Regions from separate parts of the Homo sapiens genome. Here region 1 is linked to region 2. The links are contacts of gene promoters, found by promoter capture Hi-C in blood cells and fetal thymus (Javierre and others, 2016). All regions are on one chromosome and are shown on one strand. Each heading gives the region's core, a stretch centred on a gene start or on the middle of the fragment in contact. The rest is flanking DNA. Distances are from core to core; before and after follow the strand shown.

Region 1 (2,700 bases), core at 102-2,601, 270 kb before region 2:
GTAATGGCAAGATCTCGGCTCACTGCAACCTCTGCCTCCTGGTTCAAGCGATTCTCCTGCCTCAGCTTCCTGAGTAGCTGGGATTACAAGCATGGGCCAGCATGCCTGGCTAATTTTTTGCATTTTTAGTAGAAACGGGGTTTCATTATGTTGGCCAGGTTGGTCTCAAACTCCTGACCTCAGGTGATCCGCCCACCTTGGCCTTCCAAAATGTTGGGATTACAGGCGTGAGCCACTGCAACCGGTTACTTTTTTTTTTTTTTTGAGATGGAGTCTTGCTCTGTTGCCCAGGCTGGAGTGCAGTGGCACGATCTCAGCTCACTGCAACCTCCGCCTCCCGGGTTCATGCCATTCTCCTGCCTCAGCCTCCCTAGTAGCTGGGATTACAGTCATACACCACCACGCCCAGCTAATTTTGTATTTTTTAGTAGAGACGGGGTTTCACTGTGTTAGCCAGGATGGTCTCGATCTCCAGACCTCATGATCCGCCCGCCTCGGCCTCCCAAAGTGCTGGAATTACAGGAGTGAGCCACCACACCCAGCCTTTTTTTTTTTTTTTTTTTTTTAAAGCAGGGGGGTGTTCTCGCTATGCTGCCCAGGCTGGTTGAACTCCTGGCCTCAAGCCATCCTTCCACTTCAGCCTCCCAAGTAGCTGGGATTACAAGTGTGCAGCACCATGTCTGGCTTCCATGAACATTCTTACACAGGTCTTTAGAAGACTTTTTTTTTTTTTTTTGAGACAGAGTCTTGCTGTGTCACCCAGGCTGGAGTGCAGTGACGTGATCTTAGCTCACAGCAACCTCCGCCTCCCAGGTTCAAGTGATTCTCCTGCCTCAGCCTCCTGAGTAGCTGGGGATACAGGTGCCCGCCACCACGCCTGGCTAATTTTTGTAATTTAGTAGAGATGGGGTTTCGCCATGTTGGCCAGGCTGCTCTTGAACTCCTGACCTCAAGTGATCTGCCCGCTTCGGCCTCCCAAAGTGCTAGGATTACAGATGTGAGCCACCACGCCCAGCCGTCTTTTGAGGACTTTTGACCTAAGTCCCCATTTCTGTTGGGCATGAGAATTGCTTAGTTACAGGGAAGACATATTGTATGTTTAAAACACTTTAGTAAATACTGCCAAACGGTTTTCTAAGGTGACTAAACCAATGTACACTCCCAGCAGCACTGTGTATGAAAGTTCCAGTTGTACTACATCTTTGCCACAGAGTCGTTAGTCATTTTATCTCTCTCTCTCTCTATTTATTATTTTTTTTTTTTTAAAGAAAAGGGGTCCTGCTAATGTTGTCCAGGCTGGCCTTGAACTGGGCTCAGGCAATCCTCTGGAGTAGCTGAGAGCTGCTTTTGTGTACACGTATCAATTGACCTATTAAGTATGATAAACTTTGGACTCTCTGTTCCATTGGTCTATGTTTGTCCTTATGATAATATCTCACTGGACTGATTACTGTAATCTAACAGGTGAGACTGGAAATCAGATAGTGCAAGGCCTCCACCTTTATTCTTTTTTTTCAGAATCATTTGGGTGATTATAGGTCCTTTACATTTCTACCCCTGAAAAACATACTGGGATTTTGATTGTGATTGCATCGAATATATAGATCAGTCTGGGCACAAACCACTGTGACAGCTCAGAATTGTTAGTCTTTTTTACTTTCACCCTGTTAGTCCAGGCATGGTAATTGCGCATGGGGAGTGTAACTGGTATTACCTGGTGAGGAATGATGTTGAGCGGCATTTTCTGTATTTATCAGCCATCTGCATATCTTCTTTTGTAAAGTGCCTATTCAGGTCTCTGATTCTTTCCTGCCACCTCTTTGAAAGATCAGATTATCTGTTTTTCAGTAATTTGTAGGAACTGTTGCTGGAGACAAACCCATTGTTGATTATACCTTTTGTCAGTATCTTTTCCTAGTCTATAGTTTGCCTTTGACTCTTAATGGTTCAAATGTTACAAGCTCAACATAACAGTCTTTTATGTCTATGGTTAAGGCTTTTTGTGTCCTGTTAAAGAAAACTTTGCCTACCCCAAGGTCATGAAGATATTCTATTTATTTTTCTAGAGGTGTTACAGTTTAAGCTCTTGCAGTTGTATCTATAATCCATTTTCTTTTTCTTTTTCTTTTTCTTTTGAGACAGAGTCTTGCTCTGTTGCCCAGGCTGGTGTGCAGTGGCACGATCTTGGCTCATTGCAACCTCCGCCTCCCAGGTTCGTGATTCTCCTGCCTCAGCCTCCTGAGTAGCTGCAATTACAGGTGCCCGCCACAACGCCTGGCTAATTTCTGTATTTTTAGTAGAGATGGGGTTTCACTCTTTTGGCCAGGCTGGTCTCAAACTCCTGACCTCAAGTGATCTACCCTCCTTGGCCTCCCAAAGTGCTGGGATTACAGGCATGAGCCACCCTACCTGGCTATGATCTATTTTCAATTCATTTTCTTCATTTTAATTTTAATTTCTTTTTCTTTTTTTTTTTTTTTTGAGACGGAGTCTTGCTCTGTCGCCCAGGCTGGAGTGCACTGGCGCAATCTCGGCTCACTGCAAGCTCCACCTCCTGGGTTCAAGCCATTCTCCTGCCTCAGCCTCCCTAGTAGCTGGGACTACAGGTGCCCACCACGCCCAGCTAATTTTTTGTATTTTTAGTAGAGACGGGGTTTCACCATGTTAGCCAGGATGGTCTCGATCTCCTGACCTCATGAT
Region 2 (2,700 bases), core at 201-2,700:
TGGGAGCCAGGCACTCATCCCAATCCCAGAGACGCCAAGCGGAAGGGAAGATGCTTCGGGCCCCACCGCAAGGCTGAGGGTTGGCCAAGCTGGGGGTGCACACATGTGGAAGAACTGGAGGCCCAGTGCCATGAGCAGAGGCTGTACCCTAGATGCCCGCCCCAGTGCCAGCCAACCCAAGACAGGAGAAAGAGTTTGGCAGTTTCGCCTCTGAGGAATACATGCCTGGCCCTCCTGTGAGGTGAGGCGGTAGGGGGGAAGGCGCAGGCTCCGAAGTCTGAGGGCTTGCCGGAGGGGGAGTTTCTGAGCCTTTTGCATGGGTGCATGCCCCCTGCCCCCCAGCCCTTCAGAGGCTGATGTGGAAGGCATCCTGCAGCCACTGGTCACGGGCATTGTGCGTCTGGGGCACAGTAAGGGGTGGCGGGTCAGGAGGCAGGCTGGCATCGGGAGGCTCCTCGTCGTCAGACAGGCCCGCATCCGGTGGGTAGGAGCTGTCCGAATGGAGGGAGGATGACAGGTCCTGGCAGAAGCTCAGGTCTTGGCACAGGTGTTTGTAGTCCTGGATTGACTCGTACAGGCCCCACAGCTGGCACAACAAGGACATGTCCAACTGCCGCAGCCCCACCTGCAGACAACTGAGGGTGGGCTGGAGTTGGGGTCCAGGCCACCCCAGCCCAGCCCCGCCCCCTGGAATAGTGGGCCCCAGCCCATCTTCCCCGCACCTTCCTAAACGAAGTTTTTGTGGACATCAGGCACCACCTGCAAGCTATGCAACTTTAGTCATGACCCTCACCCAAAAAATGGGGTTATCCATTTAGCCGGATGAAATGAAGTAACGTCAGCAAAACATTTGAAAATATATGGTAACTACTGCCATAATTGGTAACTATCACTAATTATTGTTACCATAACCCTTGCAACCCAACTGGTGCCTGCAAGTCCTCTGAGACCCAGGCCGCCTGTCCCAGTCCCCTGCGTTCCTCCGCGTCAGCCCCCCGCCCAGCTGGCCCGGCGCCCACCCACTCACCATCTCCTTGCGCAGCGCGGCCAGCGCTGAGTCGAGGTTGACAGGACGACGCGGGCCGGCTGCGGGTCCCGCGTTGGCGGCGCCGGCGGCGTGGCGGGGCCCGTCCGGGGCGCGGGCGGCGCGGCTCAGCTCGTCGTGGATGCGGCTGCGCTGGCTGTAGACGCGCTCCAGCTCCCGCCACGAGCCCCCGCTCGCATTAAGGAGGCCGCTGAGGCCGCGCGGCAGCGGTGGGAGCCCGGCCAAAGCGCAGCCCGCCCCGCCCGGCGCCTCTGCCGAGGGCAGCCCGTTCATGGCCGGGGCCGGCGCGGACGGCGATGCCACCTCCTTCCCTCCAACGCTCCGCCCGGGCCGCCGCCCGCAGGCCCCGCACCCCGCGGCCCCGCCGGAGCCCAGCCGCCGCCCGCAGGCCTCGCTTTGTTCCTTCCCCAGCTCCTCAGACTCCGCCTCTGCCCCACCCCCTCTGGATGGGCCGGGCCTCTCTTAAAAAGGCAACGGTTGTGGGACCACGTCGCGCAAAGCTGAGAAAAGGCAACGGGACATCCACTCACTCAAGGGGAGATGGAAAAATGCGGCGGAGGGGGGAAAAGGCTGAAGGGGGCAGGCGTGGTTTCTTCACGGTTCTTTTTGCTACCCCGTCTCCCCGCCGCGCCCCGCCCCGCCCCCACACCCAAGGAAAATGATCTAACAGTGGAGTCAGGAGACTGGCAAGTCCACACTTGGTGCCTAACGTGCCACCTGACGCTGGGGTCACCACAAACTCCTGTCGGTGTCTGAGTACCTGGGGTGGGCATGAGATGGGATAGGCTGATAGGGTCAGGATGCTCAGGGGAAGGAGGGGAATCTATCAAGGGGATCGGAACACAAAACCTCACTTCCAGGTGGGGAATGGACACCAGATGGCGGAAGAGGCTGCAGAGGTGCTGCCAGAGACAAGGCTAGGGTCCACCCCTCTGGCTGCTACCTTTGAAAAGGCTATGGCTTCTTCCTTAGAAAAGGGGCATCACATAGTCCTCTACCTACTCCCTCATCCTGACTGGGGAAACTGAGAAGAAACAAGCTCAACTCATCTCAGGGCGTCAAGGAGAGCAGAGTGGAGAGGTGAAGAGGCCAAAAGCTGGAAAAAGGTGAGTGGAGCTGGGGCTGGCATGCACACTTGGAACCAGGAAAAAAACAAACCACACAGAGGAACAGCTGTTTTTCTAGAGGGTTTTTCTCAGGGGCTTCTCTTAGTGCTGTAGCTGCTGCAGGCTGCGCAGGGCCTCCGCACATGCGCGGATAAGGCCACACAGCTGGATGCTAGTCTCCAGGGAGGTGCTAGAGCCCAGTTCAGCAGAGGCCCAGGTCAGCTTCTGCAAGAGGGCTGTCTGTGTGCAGGCCATGACATCTGTATTTGGAGGCACAGCAGGAGCAGGTGGCCCCTGGGCTGCCTTGAGTCCTGCTGCAGCTCCCTCACAGTGCTCCGGACGAGGTACTGGGGGCTGGGGCGCAGGTCGAGAGCCCAGGGGGAGCTCTGAGGCTGAGGCCAGCTGGTGCTCCCGAGCTTGGGAGAGGGCAGCCTGGGCATTCAGAGCTAAAAAGAGGAGAAAGTGGGTGGAATGGTCAGGATGCCTGGCCCACCTCAGCCCTGAGCCATCTCCTTTTCTGCTCTGCTCTTTCTGTGCTTGAGGTGTTTT

The links. Contacts are between HindIII fragments. The CHiCAGO score rates a contact against its expected background, and 5 or more counts as called.
Region 1: a contact is called between a fragment that was not itself captured here and the fragment with the promoter of FAM89B in region 2, in 1 of 17 cell types (neutrophils). The highest score is 5.8, in neutrophils.

The regions. Positions count from the first base shown.
Region 1 is chr11:65,843,002-65,845,701 of GRCh38, reverse strand. The region is part of intron 1 of SNX32 (sorting nexin 32); the gene reads right to left. Among named protein-coding and RNA genes, the nearest start is that of SNX32, 10 kb to the right of the region's middle. The HindIII fragment of the contact is 8,144 bases long and covers 1-2,700 here.
Region 2 is chr11:65,571,288-65,573,987 of GRCh38, reverse strand. It overlaps FAM89B (family with sequence similarity 89 member B), which reads right to left and starts at 1,450. Exons shown (of 2, transcript NM_001098785.2): 1 at 1,028-1,450; 2 at 1-625. The coding sequence starts at 1,318. The coding sequence ends at 347. It overlaps ZNRD2 (zinc ribbon domain containing 2), which reads right to left. Exons shown (of 4, transcript NM_006396.3): 4 at 2,100-2,597. The coding sequence ends at 2,254. RefSeq lists a silencer at 1,130-1,579. The HindIII fragment of the contact is 12,518 bases long and covers 1-2,700 here.